4 separate regions of the Homo sapiens genome follow, and regions 1, 3 and 4 are each linked to region 2. The links are contacts of gene promoters, found by promoter capture Hi-C in blood cells and fetal thymus (Javierre and others, 2016). All regions are on one chromosome and are shown on one strand. Each heading gives the region's core, a stretch centred on a gene start or on the middle of the fragment in contact. The rest is flanking DNA. Distances are from core to core; before and after follow the strand shown. Region 1 has its middle 40 kb from the start of NNMT. Region 2 holds the start of HTR3B (5-hydroxytryptamine receptor 3B). Region 3 overlaps ZBTB16 (zinc finger and BTB domain containing 16). Region 4 has its middle 12 kb from the start of NNMT.

Region 1 (5,287 bases), core at 1,989-4,488, 430 kb after region 2:
AAAAGAAAATACCCAACTCCAACCCACTCTCACCACTTCTTCCACTTAAAGGGGCAGGTGTGGGAGACTGAGAAACACTTGTGATGTTTGTAGTCCAGAGGTACAGGTTCACTAAAAGACTGAGACCTAATCATAACACTATAGAATGCTTCCGCTCCATTCATACCTCACCAACACATTACTAAAGGCCTATGTAGAGCAGTTTCTTTTACCCAGTATACTATGTCTGGCTATCAAGGAAAAAATTACAAGGCATACTAAAAGGCAGAAAAGACACAGTTTGAAGAGACACAGTGAGCATCAGAATCAGACTCAGATATGGCAGGGATCTTGGAATTAATCAGACTGGATGTTAAAATAAGTATGATTAAGATGCTAAGGGCTGTAATAGGGCTGGATGAAGCAGACAGAATGCAAGAACAGATGGACAATGTAAGCAGCAAGATGGCAAGTCTAAGAAAGAACCAAAAGGAAAGGTTAGAGATAAAAAACTCTGTAACAGAAATGAAGAATGCCTTAGATGAGCTCACTAATAGACTGGACATGGTTGAGGAAAGAATCTCTGACCTTGAGGATACTTCAGTAGAAACTGCAAAAACTGAAAACAAAGGGAAAAAAAGACTGAAAAAAACCCAAAACATAATATCCAGGAACTTTGGGACAACTATAAAAGGTGTAATATACAGGTCATAGAAATACCGGAAGAAATATTTGAAGCAATAATGACTGAGAATTTCCCAAAGTGAATGTCAGATACCAAACCACAGATCCAGAAGGCTTAGAGAACATCAAGCAGGATAAATGTCAAAAAACTACACCTAGCTGTATCATATTCAAATTATAGAAAATCAAAGATAAAGAAAATATCTTGAAAGCAGTGAAAGAGAAAAAATACCTTGCCTACAAGGGAGCAAAGATAAAAATTACACCTGACTTCTCAGAAACCATACAAGCGAGAAGACAATAAAGTGAAATATTTAAAGCGTTGAGAGGAAAAAGACCCACCAGCCTACAATTCTGTATACAGCAAATTTATCTTTCAAAAGTGAAGGAGAAATAAAGACATTCTCAGACAAACAAAAATTGAAAAATTTGTTACCAGTGACTTGCCTTGCAAGAAATGTTGAAAAAAATTATTTAGAGAGACTAAAAATTATAGGTCAGAAATTCAGCTCTACATCAATAAAGAAAAATACTGAAGAAGAAATAAATGAAAGTAAAATTTAAAATTATTTTTCATATTCTTAATTTATGTAACAAATAAGAGTTTATTCAAAATAAAATAGCAACAATGTATTTTATTACACATGCTTATGTATAAGTAAAATGAATGACAGAATGATACAAGGGGGGGGAATTAGGATCATTTTGTTATAATAAGCACTAACCAAGAAGCAGTATAATGTTTGGCGAAAATGGACTTGGATTAATTGTAAATGTATATTGCACACTCTAGGGCAACCACTAAAAAAAGTAAAAAGTATAACTGATATGATAAGAAAGGAGAGAAAATTGAATCATATAAAGTTGCTAAATTAAAATAACTAAAGGCAGAACAAGAGTGAAAGACAAAAATAGAAACGAAGAACAAGGGTAACAAAAACAGTAACAAATATGATAGATATTAACCCAATTATATCAATAATCACTTTGAATATGAGTGGTCTTAAGCACAACAATTAAAAGACAGAGAATGTTAGAATGGATCAAGAAACAAGACTCAGTTACAGGTTGTCTATAAGAAACCTCCTTTAAATATAAAGACTCATATCAATTGAAAGTAAATGGATGGAGAAAGGTATACTATGCTAAAACTAATCAAAAGAAAGTGGAAGAAACTAGAACAATTTCAGACACAGAACACTTCACAGCAAGTAAAGTTATTAGGGATAAAGAGGAGCATTGCCGAATGATAAAGGGGTCAGTTCTCTAAGAAGACATAGCAATCCTTAATGTGTGTGCACCTAATAACACAGCATCAAAATACATGAAGCAAAAACTGATAGAACTGTGAGGAGAAATAGATGAGTCCACTAGTATAGTGGGAGAGTTCAACATCCCTCTATCAGAAATGGACAGATTCAGCAGGCAGAAAATCATTAAGAACATAATCAAATTCAAAAACATCATCTATAAACTGTAAATAATGGACAGCTATAAACTAGTTCATCCAGCAATAGCAGAATTCACTGTACATTCTTCTCAAGCTCACATGGAATATTCATCAAGATAGACCACATTCTAGACCACTTCATATACCTTAACAAATGTAAAAAAAAAGTAGAAATCGTAGTGTCTGCTCTCAGACCACAATGGAATTAAACTAGAAATTTATAATAGAAGGATAGCTGAAAAATCCCCCAATACTTGGAGATACAAATACAACATGTGTCTAAATAATACAAGGGTCAAAGCAGAAATCTCAGGAGAAATTAAAAAGTACTTTGAACTAAATGAAAATAACACAAGTTATCAAAAACTGTGCAGTGCAATAAAAGTAGTGCTAAGGGGGAAATTGATAGCATGGAGTGCATATATTAGAAAATAGGAAAGATTTAAAAGAAATCACCTAAGCTTTCATCTTCGGAAACTGGAAAAACAAGAGCGAACTAAATCTATACTGAACAGAAGAAGAGAAACAATAAAAATTAGAGCAGAAATCAATGAAATTGAAACAGAAAATTAACAGAGAAAAATCAATAAAACCAAAAGCTGGTTCTTTGAAAAGATCAATAAAATTAATAAGCCCATAGCCAGGCTAACTTAGAAAAAAGAGAGAGAGGAAGAACATAAATTAGTAATATCAGAGATGAAAGAGGGGACATCATTACAAAAGTCATGTACATTAAAAGGATAATAAAGGAATACTGTGAACAACTTTATGCTTACAAATTTGATAACCTAGCTAAAATAGACCAATTTCTTGAAAGACGCAATCTGCCAAAACTCACATAAGAAGTAATACACACTGAATAAGGGTATATCTATTCAACTGAAAATGAATCAATAATTAATAGCCTCCTAAAGCAGAAAGCATCAGGTCAAAATGGGTTCGCTGGTGAATTCTACCAAACGTTTAAGGAAAAAAGCACACCGATTTTCTACAACCTCTTTCAAAGATAGAAGCACAAGGAATACTTCCTAACTCATTCTATGAAGTCAACATCACCTTCATACCAAAACCAGGCAAACACATTGGAAGAAAATAAATCCGCAGTTCAATATATCTTGGCTGGGTGCAGTGGCTCACGCCTGTAATCCCAGCACTTTGGGAGGCCGAAGCGGGAGGATCACCTGAGGTCAGGAGTTCGAGACCAGCCTGGCCAATATGGCAAAACCCTGTCTCTACTAAAAATACAAAAATTAGCCGGGTGTGGTGGTGCATGCCTGTGATCCCAGCTACTACTCAGGAGGCTGAGACAGGAGAATCGCTTGAACCTGGGAGGCAGAGATTGCAGTGAGCCAAGATCACGTCACTGTACTCCAGAGAGACTCTGTCTCCAAAAAAAAAAAAAAAAAATCCACAGTTCAGTATCTCTCATGAACATAGATGCAAAAATTCTCAACAAAATGTTAACAAATTGAATCCATCAAAGTATAAAAAGAATTGTGTGCCACACCAAGGGGGATTTATCCCAGGAATGAAAGGCTGTTTCAACATTTGACAACTAATTAAGGCTATCCATCATATCAACAGGCTAAAGAACAAAATACAGATGATTACATCAATAGATGTAGAAAAAACCTTTGACAAAATCTAACACTTGCTCATGATAAAAGAAAAAGAAAAAGAAAAAAAAAACTCCTCAGTAAATGAGAAATAGAGGGGGAACTTCCTCAACTTGATAAAGAATATCTACAAAAAATATACAGATAACGTCATATTTAATGGTGAGAAATTAGAAGCTTTCTCATTAAGATCAGGAACAAGGCAAACACATACTCTCTCACCACAGCTTTTCAACATTATGCTAGAAATCCTAGCTAATGCAATGAGATAAGTAAAGAAAATGTATACTGACTGAGAAGGAAGAAATAAAACTATCTTGTTCACAAAAGACATGATTGTCTAAAAGAAAATCTGAAAGAATCAGGCCAGGTGTGGTAGCTCACGCCTGTAATCCCAGCACTTTGGGAGGCCGAGGCGGGTGGATCACAAGGTCAGGAGTTCAAGGCCAGCCTTACCAACATGGTGAAACCCCATCTCTACTAAAAATACAAAAATTAGCCAGGTGTGGTGGCGTGTGCCTGTAATCCCAGCTACTCAAGAGGCTGAGGCAGGAGAATTGCTTGAACCCAGGAGGCGGAGGTTGCAGTGAGCCGAGATCACACCACTGCACTCCAGCCTGGACGACAGAGCGAGACTCCATCTCAAAATAAAAAAAGAAAGAAAATCTGAAAAATCAAGAAAAAAAGCTCCTGGAACTAATAAACAATTATAACAAGGTTTCAGGATGCAAGGTTAATATACAAAAGTCAATCATTTTTCTGCATAGCAACAATGAACAAGTGGAATTTGATATTAAAAAGAAATTGTCATTTATATTAACAGTGCCTCAAAATAAAATACTTGGGTATAAATCTAACAAAACCTGTACATGGTCTATATAAGGAAGGCCATAAAACTGATGAAAGAAACCAATGAAAAACTAAATAAATAGAGAAATATTCCATGTTCATAGATAGAAAAACTCAGTATTAGTCAAGATATTAGTTCTTCACAACTTGATCTATAGATTCAATGCAATCAAAATCAAAATCCTAGTAAGATATTTTGTGGCTATCAATAATCTGATTCCAATGTTTATATGAAGAGTCAAAAGACAGTCAATAACCACCACAAGATTGAAAGAAAAGAACAAAATTGGAGGACTGACATCAAGACTTATGATATTACTATAACTACCCTAAAGCCACAGTGATAAAGACGGTGTGGTATTGGTGAAAAAACTGGCAGAGGATCAATAGGATAGAATAGAAAGCCCAGAAATAGACCTACATAAACACAATCAACTAATCTTTGAAAAGGGGGCAAAGGCAATACAATGGAGACAAGATAGGCTTTACAATAAGTGGTGCTGGAACAACTGAACATTCACATGCAGAGAAGTGAATCTCGACACAGACTTTCCACCCATCACAAAAATTAATTCAAAATACCCCACAGACCAAAATATCAAACTGTAAAACTAGAAGATAACATAGGAGAAAATCTAGATGCCCTTGGGTTTGTCAATGACTTTTTAGATATAATACCGAAACCACAATACATGAAAAAAAGAACTGA
Region 2 (4,721 bases), core at 301-2,800:
CTGAATAGATTCAAGTTATGAATTTTTGGCAAGACTATACCGGAAGAGCTATGGAAGCTAGGTGTGCTTGTTACTATTGGGGTGTCATTCTCCTAGGCTGCTAAGTGGACAGAGCTAGGGAATATATGCATGTATGAACATGTGCAAACACACATTACATTTGTATTTATTTCTTTTCTTTTCTTTTTTTTTTTTTTTTTTTGAGGCGGAGTCTCCCTCTGTCTCCCAGGCTGGAGTGCAGTGGCGCGATCTTGGTTCATGGCAACCTCCACCTCCTGATTCAAACAATTCCCCTGCCTCAGCCTCCCGAGTAGCTGGGATTACAGGCATGTGCCACCACGCCTGACTAATTTTTGTAGTTTCAGTAGAGATGGGGCTCACCATGTTGGTCAGGCTGGTCTCAAACTCCTAACCTCAAGTGATCCACTGGCCTCGGCCTCCCAAAGTGCTGGGATTACAGGCTTGAGCCACCACGCCCAGCTTATTTGCAATTATTTATATATTTAGCAAATGTACTGAAAACCATGGGTTCACACTGATACCTCCAAAACCAAGTCAACACCAAATGGTTATCTTAGTTTTCTCTCTTTCTGTGTATACCACTCCCTTCACCAACAGTAAGAAAGCAATTAGGCTACATTTTATTGGTAGATGAAAATTAGGTGTAGAACTTCATGGATTCTAAACAAAGGGACTGAGTGATTAGGAGAATAGGAATCAAATATATACTTTCCCCCCTTCGGTTGGCTCTGTGAAAATTTATATCAAAATTTGCCTCTATAATCTCATTTTTAATAAAAAAGCAGGCAGATGTTGGAAATGGTATTTGTTTTTTCTTTCTAGAGCATCTGGGGGTGTCTAGAAATGGAAAATAGTGTTATTGTATAGAATTATGCATCATGTTCCTTAGTAATGAAAAATGAATGCGTATTCAATCAAAAAGTGAAAAAAAAACTTTTATTAAATGATGTTGAACTTTGTTTTCATCTTCAATAAGCCTAGAAGCATCCTTTCTAGAAGGTTACTTTCTGAATTGTGAGCAGTGAAAATTTGAGAAGCCCTCCTATTTATCAAAAGTCAATGTTTCTTTTAATTAAAAGGGCTTAGGAAAAACAAAAAGCACTTTTCCATTGCATTGTTTGCAGTTGTTCTTCATTAGACAATACCAGGTTTCCATTAGCCTTGTGTAATTCAAGAGCCCAAGAACCACTGTCAAATGCTGAAGATGTTACTGCATAAGTCTGATTTAGAACAGCTATTTGGATTTCAATTATTAATGAAATTAGTGTCCTGAATGTCAGCAAGAGTACTGCCTTAGGTAAAGGCTGTAAAGGAAATCATATTAGTGTGGAATTTCCTCTCCTTAGGGGCTCCTCTTAGATTACATTATTCACTTAGCTATCTCCTGTCAGGAAAATGGAAATGTTGGCCACGGTCTGATCTTGGGGCAGAACCAAAGGGAGAAGTTAAGGGATTTCATGACGGCATCAATTCCAAAACATTTGCATGGTGCTGGTATTGCCTTTGGTCCCACTGAGTGTTTACAAAATAGCACCAGTAAGGATAGCATCAACTGGCAAACGGAGAAGGAGGAGAACAGAGTGGAGAGGAACCCTGTTAGGAGAAATTGAGCGGCATTCCATCTGGTAGGCAAGTTTGCATTTCTCCTTTTTGGGATCTGCCCAGGAATGTTGTCAAGTGTAATGGCTCCCCTGTGGGCCTGCATCCTGGTGGCTGCAGGTGAGTCCTTTTAATAATTTTACTAGGCATTAAGGATTAACTCTTAGAAGATAGAGACAATATTTGTATACACCGTACTGTAGGACTTCTCAGGCATGTTTGTTTTTATTCATCGTCTGTAAAATGCCAGTCCTGTGAAGCTATATGGAAAACAATGATTTGTTTGTGACTTGGCTCCTATGATTGCAAATACGTATACATATAGCATCAGACTGTGGGGCTTTTTACACATAGCTGAAAATATGCTCTGAAATGTTATAATTGCTTGATAAATCTCTGCTTCTCTAGAAATCAAGCTCTCTGCAGGTTGATTGAGAGTTTGGGGCATTCTTTTTCAAATTTGCTTTTATGTGTGGATAATATGTTTTTATTATCCAAAATAGTCTTGGCTTCATTATCAGCTGTTAGCAGCCCAGAGAAAAAGTCCACTAGATTTGTCATGGCTACAGATATATGTATATCATTTTGGTATTAGAGGCCTTAACATCTCGCCTTACAAAATCTATATAGGTGATGAGTATATCTCTAAAGACAGGTACTATAAACTGGTAAGTTTTGAGTCTACAATTCCTCTTAAAAGTAATTTAGAAGTTAATACTTTTTTTTCTAAATTTCTAGAACTATATTTCCATGGCACCAGTATTAACTCTACTGAATTGAATCATTTTAGTTAGGATACAATTGATTCTTAGTACATGCGCACAAATCAAGAATTTATGATTATGCTGGTGTTCTCAACACCCCACTTTCTTGAGGTTTCTCCTAGAGCTCATATCTGAATTCTCAAGTTTTAGGATGTAACTGGAAGTGGAATGAGTCAATTATAGAGATGAGTTAGAAATTTGGTAGCCAGGAAGCTGGAAATGATTTTTTTATTGGGTAGAGAAGAAAAATAGCCACTTATCATTAAAGTATAAAAATCCTGGATGTTGAACATAAAGGATAAAAGCATATCTTAATTGTAAAAAATAAAAACAGAGGAAGTGTCATTAAATGCCAAATGGGTTTCTTAGTAGAAAATAATCGTGAACATTAAACTAAGATAAAATAGAAAAATGAAGGTAAGAAAACAGACTAAGTTCTTAACAATATCTCTCTAATGTTTTGTATTATGCATGATTTTTGTTCTAAATGTAGCAGAAAGAAGTGTTTTAATAGTGTCTGATAACCAGTGCTTTACCATAAATCATTCCGTGGATACTTGTTGCAGAAAGACCTGCCCTGTGGAATTGTACTGGGTTTTACTATGTTTACTTTACGTATTTTACTATATTTACAAATCAAGATGATTTGTTAAGTGTAAGAGCACGGAACCAATCCCAGGGGGCAGTGTGCTGGTATAGAAGGAGGCCTGAACAAGGAGAGCCAGCTAATTCCTGCTTCACCACTCACCAGCCACGTAACCCTGGGAAGTCAATTAATCTCTTAGAGACTCAGTTTTCCTGTAAGCTAACTTTATTTTGGATATTCATGACAATCAGATAAGACAGCATTGTTAAATTGTAAGGTGAAATGCAAATGTAAGATATTATTAACCTGAAAACACATGCAGAAAATACCACTGGCTATTTCTGTCCAATAATATACTCCATACAACATGTCAGTCTTCTTTTTGAAAGGTTACTTGCTGTTGTTCCTGATATTCTCAGGGAGCCAGGTTACACTTAATCATGTAGCGTCATGATTAAGAGCTTGGACTTCGAATCCAGACCAGCTGTGTGTAAATATCACTCCCTTCACTTGCAAGCTTCATGACCTTGGGCAGTGCTAAGCTCACTATGCCAATAGTCCCTCATCTGCAGGAATAGTGCACTCCTCACAGAGCTGTAGAGTACCTGTCTCATAAGTTTGTTGGGAACTTTGAAGGAGATCATTCATGTGAGGACTTAGCCTGGTGCCTGGCATACAGTCAGCATTCAATTAGTGTTAGGAATTCAATACATAAATCTCATTTCCTTTTAACCTCTCAGATATATGTGTAACTCTCTTATAATCCTACAGATACATAGTGACTAAAGCAAGAATAGTGCTTTCCATCAAAGTGCCCTGAACACTTTAAGATAGGTGCATGGGAGAGTAAGTCATTAAAACAAGGAAAACACAGGAATAATTTTACTGTGTTCTTATCTTCCTCCTTTTCAATCTCTCTTCACCTGCAAGTGCTTCATAGCTCAGTCCCTAACACATTCTACTTTCCAGAAATCTTACAAGTGAATCATTTGAAGCTGATTATTAGCATTCAAGAAGGCAGTTTTGGCGAGGAATCTTTTCTGGGTCTGTTGATAGCTTCCATCAGTGTCTGTTGAAACATCACTGAACTGTGAGTCATTTAGTGCTTGTGTGAATGTCACATTAGCTTTCAAGGGGCATAATTTACTGTTAATTAATGGTCACTTAAATCCTTAATCTCTCTCCTGTAATTGATCTTTCTCCTCAGGCAAATTTGCATTCATAGTAGAAATGTAATTTATTATTTCTTCCCATCTTAAACAAAGAACTCTTTCCCCTTTTGGTTTATTTAAGCATATTTCCATTTGCTTATTATTTTTCTCCTTTCAGTGCTTGATTCTCTTTTGTTCCTAGTCCTAGCTTCCAGAACTTTCTCTTTTTAACCAAGATTTTGACCCATTCTAGAAAACATGAGTTTATCCATAGGGAATCTATGGATTGCTTCCTAGACAAGATCGCAGAGGGGAATTTGAGTCTTTGTGAGCAGACAGTGCGAGGAACACATATTCATTTCTCAGAATTATGTTTTAATGCTGTCTCGGGTAATTTCCTGTATTGAAACATACTCATTTCGGTGTTTCCCCAACTGAGACTTGAATTGGGAGCTTCCAAGCGAGGTAAACGTGAAGCTGCCCACAGCAAAGTTGGCAGGAAAAGCACTGGGACAGCTTTGCCTTGTGCTCCTGACTTCCCTCCCCTGGGGTACACCAGCGAGAAATGTTCTCAGGTAGAGAGATTCACAGCACACTTTT
Region 3 (4,746 bases), core at 302-2,801, 320 kb after region 2:
GGCCCTTGAAAACCATTTTAAGTAGTTTTTGCCTTTTTCTGGGGACAATAGGGAAGTAATGAAAGGATCTTAATCAGGGGAGGGACATCAGGTGATGTCATGGAAAAGTTACTTTGACTACTTGGTTTTGACTCAACTGGTGGGTTTAAGCTGAAGGCAGGGAGATTGGGATAATATTGCCATCATTTAGGCAAAGAATATGGTAGTCTGAACCAGTGTTGCTGTATGAGGGGGTGGATAAATAAATGCACAAAAAGATACTAGAAATCCGAAAACATTTGGTAATTGATCTCTTTCGAGAGGTGAGAGAGGAATCTAGGATAATGCCCACTTTTCTTGCTTGGGCAACTGAGTGATAGTGGAGTTCTTTACTGAAATGAAGAATACAAGAAAAAAGAGCTTTTTTTATTGTTATCGTTAGGATACTGAACAGTTTTCATATACAGTAGCAGGGTGTGCATGACATCCAAAGGTAGGGTGTGCCTAGGAGGCATGTGGGTATACAGACGTATCTGGAATTCAGAAGAGAGAGACCCACTGGATATGTCCATTTTGGAGTTGTCATCAACATATAAATGATCATTGAAGCCCTTGGAACTGGGTGAGTTTATATAACAAGAGAGTATAGAAAGAGAAGAGAGCTTGGAATAGAATCCAGAGGAACCCCAACATATTCCACCCCTCCAGAACAATCCCAATCCACGATGGAGATCGAGGAGTTGCTGGAAGAAATAGGAGGGACACCAGAAGAGTGTGGTGTCATGGAAGCTAAAGGAAGAGGTTTCAAAAAGAAAAAAGCAGTCAGTTTTAGATGGTGCTGAGAAGTCCCCTAAGAGGCAGACTAAAAAATGTCTGTTGCTCTTAGTGACATGGGAGTCGCTGGATATCAAAGGCAAACAGTTTTGGTGTCAGTGGAATGATAGAAGCAGGAGTGGGATTACAGTGGGTTGAGGAGTTAGTGAGCAATTGGGAGGTAGAGGCAACGTGGGTAGGCAGCTCTAGGAGTGGAGGAGGTGGTTAGTTAGACCGATCCAAGCTTAGGGTACAGCAGGCTGGTGAAATTGAAGGATCCCAGGCAGGGGAGTTCAGGAATTGGCCAGAAGTCAGTGGGGAGTTGGACGACGGGCCTTGAAGTGTGGGCCGAATATGAAAGAAGTAAGGAAAGGAAAGGCATTCTAGGGAGATTTTTGAAGATCAAATAATGGGTTTGGTGGGAGTAACTGGATGGGAGAATTTAAAAGGTGGGAATGAGGTTTGAATATAACACTGTAGAGATAGAGCTCTTCTTGGTGATGAAAGACATAGAGTGTTCTCTATAAGCACCTCCTAGAGGGGGCCTAAGTGCAGCTCATGGTACCTGTCTTAGTCTGTTTTGTGCTGCTGTAGCAGAATGCCTGAGAGTGGGTAATGTATACAGAACAAAAATGTATTTGGTTCACAGTTTTGAAGGCTAAGTCCAAGATCAGGGTGCCAGCGTCTTACAAGGGCCTTCTTGCTGCACCACTCCATGGTGGAAGGCGAGAGGGCAAGAGAGAGCAGAGCACAAGAGGGGACTAGATTCATTTTTTCCTAAGGAACCCACTCCCTTGAGAACGACATTAATCCACGCGTGAGGGCACAGCCCCCATGACCCAAACACCTCCCAAGAGGCCCCACCTCCCAACACTGCTGCATTAAGATCAAGTTTTCAACACAGGAACTTTGGGGGACACATTTAAACCATAGAAGTACCTAAGTTAAAACACCACAGCCCACTGATTTAAATATCTGTACCCCACACCCTTCTTCACCCAGCCACTGGATCAGTGTTCTAAGCAGCTACTGTTTCTCCATCCCCTAATCATGTGACACTGTGATAGACATTGTTCATATATTATCTCTAATCTGCCCAGCAACCTTGCATGGTGGGTACTATAACTCTAATACAGAAAGGAAACTAAGACCCAGAGATACTAAGTGATTTGCATATGATTATGTAGTTAGTAAATAAATGGAAGAGTCAGAATTTGAACCCAGGTGTGGTCTGACTTCAACACCGAGGCTCTTTGCTTTGTACTTCTCAGACTGTAAGCTTCTTGGGGCCAAGAAGTATTTTCTTATCATTGTGTAGCCTCAGGGTTTGATTCCTATACAGAATTGGGACTCAAGAAATTTGAGGTGCATGAGTGAGTCAGTAAGTGAGTAACTGAGTGAGGGGTACATAAAGTAACTCTCTAATGCTGTTCCCCAGGGGAAATAAAGCACCACCACCCAAAGAGAGAAATGAAGAGCACTGGACAGAAGAAAGGAAGAGCAGAAAGATTTGGCCATCAAGCGATGCTGGTGTTGGGTAGCTAGAACAGAGGTGTCTCTCTTCACTACTGTTTCTAACCAGGGTGCTGGACAGCCTGTGGTTGGCCTGAGAGAGTCAGCCCTAAGGCCTCCATCTGCCCCAGCATCAACCCCAGGCTCCAGAGCTGTCAGGCAGTGGCCCAAAAACTCCAGAGGAGGAGCTGAAAGGGGAGGTACCTAAGAAACAAAACCCACATGGGAGGAGAGAACCCCAAACCACGAAGTGACATTCTACTTCACGTTTCCTTTTAGTGTCGGCATCTGAGGCTGGGGTTTCTCTCCAGACCCTCCTTCAGAGTGCCCAGGGTTGGCGTGTCTGAATGTGTGAGAGTGTTGGGAGGGACCACGCTGCCCATGAGGAGCATGCACACCACCTGACATGACCTTGAACTCCAGCCAGATGCCTACCAGACACTCGTCTTCCTTCCCTGAAACTGATTTATAGAATCAGGAGAGCAACCTACTTGAAAGGAGGGTAGTTCCAGATGTGGGGGTAATGGGAAATGCTAGTGGGCAATGTGCTCTTTTATTTTACTATTTTTCTTTATCATATCATATTCCTCTCTCTCCCTCCCCAAATAGCAAGAAGGACAGTATCTTCCTTCCAGGCTTTAAAATCCCTTGCGTGCAGCCTGACGTTGCCTAAAAGCCTCTCCCTCAGGCCTACGGACTCCCTCTCATTGCTTGCCTATTCAGTAAGCCTATAAATTTACTGTCCCCTGTCCACCACCATCACCACCAGCCTGTTGTGGCAGGGAAGGTGGCCTGGTGAGCCCAGTGGACTCCAGCAGGACTGCAGCAAGGCGATACTGCTTTGTGCAGCAGCCGGAGCAGCGCTGTCCCTGAGGTCTGCAGGAAAGTCCTGGGGCCCAGGAAGACAGTGGCCCATCACCCCCAGTATTGCACATCAGGTATCCCCCACCTGTGTGCACCATGCACACCCCCACCATCCACCTCCTGGGCCCCATGTGCTGGGGGAAGGTGTGGTCAGCAGACAGGGGAGGATGTCATGCTGACGGAGCCCCTTAGAACAATAGGAGCTTCACAGGATCACAAAGCCTATCCCCCCTCATGTTACAGAAGAGTTGAAGTCCAGAGAAATCAAATTCATTTGTGCAATCCTTTATCCATCTATTCGTCCTTCTCTCCATCCAATAAATATTCATTGAACACCTGTCAGAACCAAGAGATAGAGTGCTGTATAAGAGAAGTGAGGTCGCAGCTCTCATGCAGCTTTCATTCTGACAGGTGGGGAAGACAGTAAACCTTGAACTTAAAGCAAGTCTCTAAGTCTTGTGGGTGTCACAGCTGAAGACTAAGGCTGGGCCTCCTGTAGTGTCCTTTGCAAGGCCCCATACTCCCTGCTTCCTGGGAGGCCAAGCATTTAGTTTGGCTCTCCATTGCAGATGGAGAAGTTTGAGGGAATAAATACCAGTTTGGACTAGATACTTCTGGGCGGCAGAAGGGTACAGGTAGTTTCAGACCAGGATTGGTTTTTAATTTTTTAATTTTGGTAAATTATATGTAATGCAAAATTTGCATTTTTAACCATTTTAAGAGGACAATTCAGTGGCATTAAATACATTAGCATTGTCATGCAACCATCAACACACACTGTATCTCCAGAACTCTTATCATCCCGTAAAACAGAAACTCCGTACCCATTAAACACCAACTCCCCATTCCTTCCCTGACTCCTAGACAGGGATTCTTAACTTTTTTGTGCCATTGGCTCCCTGGGCAGTCTGGCGAAACCCCTGAACTCTTCCTCAGAATCAGGTCTCTAAATGCAGAAAGTAAAATACATAGGATTGTCATGGAAACTTGAAATACAAATATCAAAATATTTTTTAAAAACCATTTGTAATATAGAAATATGTGTGATTCTTTGTTATCCCATTAACCAATAACATCAGGCTGTAATTGAATAACTACCATATTTTTGCGGGAGTGGCTTGCATAGATGATATTTTGAGATGACTGCAACATTTCTAGTGCAGTGTGAAAATACCTGTAAAGTCTACCGGTGACCAAGTAGTTACCAGTACTGCCCATATGACTTGCTGGTTGCTTATATTCCTAATGGAAGGAGCCACTGAATTTCAGTTGGAGGTTGGTGAAAATAAAGATGTCACTTTTTTCCCCTCTCTGAGTTCACCAATCTCCTGAATTCTGTCCCTGGACAGCTTAGGGGTTCCGTGGACTCCAGGTTAAGAAGCCGTGCCTAGACCTGAGCTCACTCCCCTTTTCTGCCTAGAGGGGCAGTGCACAGTGCACGGGGCTGGGAGCGTGTTGATACGTAGGATGTCGTGAGTGAAGCAGTCCCTTTGCAGGGCATCACAGGAGCCCAGCCAAGGGGAAAAGGTGCCCCCACTCTCCCCAGGCCGCCAGCCTGCTGTCTGAGGTGGGCGGGGC
Region 4 (5,050 bases), core at 2,451-4,950, 380 kb after region 2:
GTCTTCTTCACTGTGCCTGAACAAGTGACTCCTGTGCGAACTAGAGACTGATGAGGAAATTGACAAAGGAAGGTAAAGTGACTAAAGACTTCTGTGCCTGAAATGAAGTACACTCAAGAGGAATCCAGAGGTTAAGATCATAAACCCCAGCCTGGGCAATGTAGTGAGATCTCCACTCTACTAGAAATTAAAAACGCCAGGCATGGTGGCATGCACCTGAAGTCCCAGCTACTCAGGAGCCTGAGATGGGAGGATCGCTTGAGCCCAGGAGGTCAAGGCTGCAATGAGTTGTGATTGCACCACTGCACTCCAGCCTGGGCCACAGAGTGAGACCCTGTCTCAACAAACGAACAAACAAATACCCCAAAATTGTAAACAAATACAAAAACAATAAAAAAATTAGATTCCTGCTTGATAATTAGATTCCTGCCAAAGTGATCAGGTGGACAGACTGGAAGAAATATTTACAGTGAATAAAACCAACAGGGGACAGATATTTTCTAGAATATACAAGGAACTACTGCAAATCAACAATAGGAAAAAGTCTAAAGACAAAAAGGAGCAAGAATATGACCAGGAAATGTATAGAAGAGGAAACTCCAAAAGCTAGCAAGCATTTTGTGACAGAGATTGTCTAACTCCTCCCCAATTTGCATGTCCTTTTTTCAGCACACATCCAGGCTGTATTTCACAGCCCCCTTGCCTCAGGCCATGTGATGGAATTCTGACCCAAAGAATATTAACAGATTAATGTATGGCACTACTTAGGCTGTGTCCTCAAAACCCTCGCATTCCAATCTCCTCCGAGAGCTCTCTCCCCTCCTCTGAGGGCTAGATGAAGAGAATCCAATGGAAGGCTCTGGGGCCTTAGAGCCACACAATGGAAGAAGTCTGAGTGCCGAAAGGACCACTGGGGGAGTACCCTTCCCTTGCCTGCCATCATGGTCTGTGATGTGAAAACAAACATTTATTTTGTTAAGCCACTGAGGTTTGAGGTCTGTTACATCACTTAGCTTATCTCACTGATACTGATATGCATGTTTAGAAGTGCTCAAACTCATCAGAGAAAGTGTACAACTTCACTTATTCTCATTAGACTAGCAAAAATTAGTATAGCAGATCATTCTAAAAATTGATGGTAGGGATGGGAGTGGGTGTGCCGATACAGGGAACCTCATGCACTGCTGATGGGGGTGTAGACTGGTATAGCCTTGCTGGGGGCAATCTGGTGGTTCTTACTCAAATTAAATATGTGGATACCTTAGGATTCACCAGTTCTACTACTGGGAATGCCCCCCATAGGAATTCTCACACAGGTCTCTATATGAAGGAGACATGGATGTCTCTGGAATCATTGTGTTGGGGAGTTGGAAACAATCTGGGTATCTGCTCCTGGGGGTGTGGATAAATAAATGAGGGGTGCAAATCATGAAGAACGATGCAGTGGCATGAAGCAGTGGGTCACATACACACGTAATGTGATAGGGCTTTAATGCATAGTGAAAATGATGCAAATACAAATATATGCATACACAGCAGCAGCACACATTTTACCAAAATGCACATAAAGAATAGACATCAAACACCTTGGGATGGTTGTCTATGAAAGGGAAATGAGAGTGGAAAATAAAAGGGGAGGAAGAAAATATAATCATATGAGTGAATTTCCTTCCACTGTACAGATTCTCAGTTCATTCCGAAAGCTTTTTGACAAGAGATTGAAGACTGACAATCACAGCTGTTTTACTTCCGAGGCTTAGTTTTCTTTACAGAATCTTATTTCCATGAGGTTATTACGTCTATCCTCAATTTTTAAAAAAGCTTATATTCTGCCTTTGTTGCTTTTTTTTCAATTTAATAAGCATTTTCTTTTAACCACCTGACCTCATGCTTTTTCAAAAACTAAACTAAACAAAACAATAAAGGAAGAAGAGAATTACAAGATCCAATCTTAGTCCTAACATCTTTTACCCTGAACATAAAACGATTTGCTTTTTACATAGGTAATAAACAGAGGGAGAAGAGTGAACTTCATAATCTTGATATTTGTATAGCATTAGTAGTGATAGGACAGATGTCCTAAATAGGTATCGTACCGTTACAGTAATTAGTAGGAAGCAAAGAAAAATCAATGGAACAGAGCAGATAGCCCTAAATCAGGTCCCAGTAAGTTTTGTAAGTAAGCATGTGACAAAGGAGCAACAAGCCGAGGAGGAAAGGAAACAAAGCAAAATAGTGCAGATAGCACAGAAGCCACTCAGGTTTTCAGCTTTTGCCAGCAGGATATTAGGGAGGCTCCACCCTGATTTCCAGCCTCTCTGTGCCAGGCAGATGTGGATCTCCAGCAAGCTGGCCACCTGCCACAGCAACACTGCTGGTACCTGGCTCTGCCAAAGGCCCTATCACCCTGGATGCCATCTGCCTGCAATTTACAAACTGTATAGGAGGGGTAGGTCAGGCCTGGACACCTCGTGGCTGGACTATGGAAACTGGTCCTGGCTGAGGCTCAGGAATTGCTTTCCTTTCCAAGTAGTCCTCAACCACCTTCACCCCAACATGGTTTTTTTTGTTTGTTTGTTTTTGTTTTTTGTTGCTGTTGTTTTTCTTGAGATGGAGTCTTGTCCAGGCTGGAGTGCAGTGGTGCTATCTTGGCTCACTGCAACCTCCGCCTCCTGGGTTCAAGCAATTCTCCTGCCTCAGCCTCCCAAGTAGCTGGGACTACAGGCATGTGCCACCACACCCGACTGATTTTTGTATTTTTAGTAGAGACGGGGTTTCACCGTGTTAGCCAGGATGGTCTCGATCTCCTGACCTTGTGATATGCCCACCTTGGCCTCCCAAAGTGCTGAGATGACAGGCGTGAGCCACTGCACCCGGCCATCTTTTTTTTTTTTTTTTTTTTTTTTGAGCAGAGTATTGCTCTGTCACCCAGGCTGGGGTGCAGTGGTGTAGTCTCTGCTAACTGCAACCTCCACCTTCTGGGTTCAAGTGATTCTCCTGCCTCAGCCTCCCAAGTAGCTGGGATTACAGGTGCATACCACCATGACGGGCTAATTTTTGTATTTTCAGTAGAGACAGTTTCATCATGTTGGCGAGGCTGGTCTTGAACTCCTGATCCGCCCACCTCAACCTCCAAAAGTGCTGGGATTACAGGTGTGAGCGACTGTGCCTGGCCCCAACATGTCTTTTCTCCCATCACGCTTCTTCTTCCTTTAGCCAAGAAGCTTGCCACCTTACACCCTTCCTCTCCCTCCCTCCTTGGCATCCTTCTCAAAGCTTTCTGTAACCTGAACAATGGATTTAGAAGCCAGTGAAAATATTTGAGACGCTGGAGTATTGATAACCAGATAATTAGATAACTAGAGTTTCTGGCTGAATCAGTGTCTTTGTGGCTATGGATTTTCAACCCAAAGCTCTACGAGAGGGCACACTGTGAGAACCAGGCAGAAGGCAGCCCTCTGCGTACATACAGTGACGCCCTTATGGTCTGCAGCCTCATTTTTACCCCAAAGGTAGCCATGACTTAAGAGTGACAAAAGAGAGAAGCTGACAGGTTGTGGACTCCAAGAAAGGGTTCTCTACCTCCCTGCAATTAAGGCTCATATTAATCAGCTCTGGACTCACCATATGCATCCACTAAAATCTAGAGCAGGCCCTGCGGGAGCACATCAAATTTGATGGGTTATAGTTTTGGTGATAATTTTGTTTATTTGTTATTAATTACCAAGCACATGAAATGCTCCCAAATTACTGATGCCTCTTACTCCAGGAGTTGCTTAATTTGGCTCTGCCTTGGAATTCTTTCCTGGCGACTCACGCCTGCCACAAGGTATGGTTTGAGCAGAGAAAGAGGAAGAGGCTCAGTAGTTGCTTCTCTGCAACATATGTGAATACCCCACCCACAATTGCAGCAGGAAGAGGTGAAGGGAGCAGGCTCCTAATTGCTGTGGCGTACCCAGGGGTACATTTCTTTCTTGGAGATAAGCAGAAGGCAAGGAGTGTCAAATGAGAGATCACTGCCTACAGAAGTCTGTGTCATCTCTGAAGCATCCTGGGGCCCTCTGATCTACAGTAGGCCTTGATGTCATCTGAGGCACAGAAGGACTTCTTCCAGCATTGGAAAGAAAAGCTTGGAAGGAAAGCTTCAGCTGCAGTTTCTGTAATGTTCTCCTCCATCCTTGCCCCATTTTTGCAGAGATCGTTGTTTATCCTTTAGTACCATTGAGTACCATTTAGCCCCACTGGGTAAAATTGAGTGAAAAAGAAACACTAGGTCCTGCCTCAGAGAGGAAACTTGGGAAGACCAATATTATCAAGTAGACTTGATCTCTAAATTTGTGCTTGTTTCGAGGGACTCTGCGTCTGGATATGCAGGATGTTTTTTAAATTGTGAGATGCATCTACAGAAAAGTTCATAGAACATTTACATAGAGCATAAAGGTTAATATAAAATGCATGAGCACTGGTTAGCATTGCAGGATTTTTGAAGCACCCTCTTCCCCCTGTGTTCTGTAACCTGAGCACAACTTTGTCCTCCCCAGTCACCCACAGGCAACCACTATCCTGGCATCTAATGAAATTATCTCATTGTTTTTCTTTAGTTTTCCCACCCACTTGTGCATCACTAAATAATAAAATTTACTTTTGTTTGTTTTGGACTTTTGGACTTTATAGATTGAATAAAAAGGAAGTCTTTCTTGGGACTTTCTTCTTTCGCCCTACATCATTTGGAGAATCATCCATGCTGATGCTTGTAGTTCTAATTGGTTCATTTTCATTGCTGTACACTCCAATTTATTCTACCATTGTTGGACTTTTAGGTTGTTTCTAGTTGGGGGCTGTTCCAAACAATGCTGCTAAGAACATTCATGTTTATGTGCCAGATTTTTCTCTAGGTGTGTACCTGGACTGTAATTACTGGGCATAGGGTACGCAGCAACTCAACTCTACCAGTCAATGCCAGACTGTTTTCCATAACGCTGCACCAAGTTACATGCCTGCTAGAAATACACAAGGACATCTATTGGTCAAGGCCTTTGGTGCTGGTCAG

Evidence for each region. Contacts are between HindIII fragments. The CHiCAGO score rates a contact against its expected background, and 5 or more counts as called.
Region 1: a contact is called between a fragment that was not itself captured here and the fragment with the promoter of HTR3B in region 2, in 1 of 17 cell types (neutrophils). The highest score is 5.5, in neutrophils.
Region 3: a contact is called between a fragment that was not itself captured here and the fragment with the promoter of HTR3B in region 2, in 1 of 17 cell types (total B cells). The highest score is 5.8, in total B cells.
Region 4: a contact is called between a fragment that was not itself captured here and the fragment with the promoter of HTR3B in region 2, in 4 of 17 cell types (total CD8 T cells, fetal thymus, total CD4 T cells and 1 more). The highest score is 5.9, in total CD8 T cells.

The regions. Positions count from the first base shown.
Region 1 is chr11:114,333,816-114,339,102 of GRCh38, forward strand. No RefSeq gene overlaps it. Among named protein-coding and RNA genes, the nearest start is that of NNMT, 40 kb to the left of the region's middle. The HindIII fragment of the contact is 1,332 bases long and covers 2,573-3,904 here.
Region 2 is chr11:113,903,246-113,907,966 of GRCh38, forward strand. It overlaps HTR3B (5-hydroxytryptamine receptor 3B), which reads left to right and starts at 1,551. Exons shown (of 9, transcript NM_006028.5): 1 at 1,551-1,740. The coding sequence starts at 1,689. The HindIII fragment of the contact is 6,317 bases long and covers 1-3,485 here.
Region 3 is chr11:114,224,009-114,228,754 of GRCh38, forward strand. All of the region lies in intron 4 of ZBTB16 (zinc finger and BTB domain containing 16), which reads left to right. Among named protein-coding and RNA genes, the nearest start is that of NNMT, 70 kb to the right of the region's middle. The HindIII fragment of the contact is 1,035 bases long and covers 1,035-2,069 here.
Region 4 is chr11:114,281,883-114,286,932 of GRCh38, forward strand. It overlaps a transcript of NNMT not described here. Among named protein-coding and RNA genes, the nearest start is that of NNMT, 12 kb to the right of the region's middle. The HindIII fragment of the contact is 853 bases long and covers 3,275-4,127 here.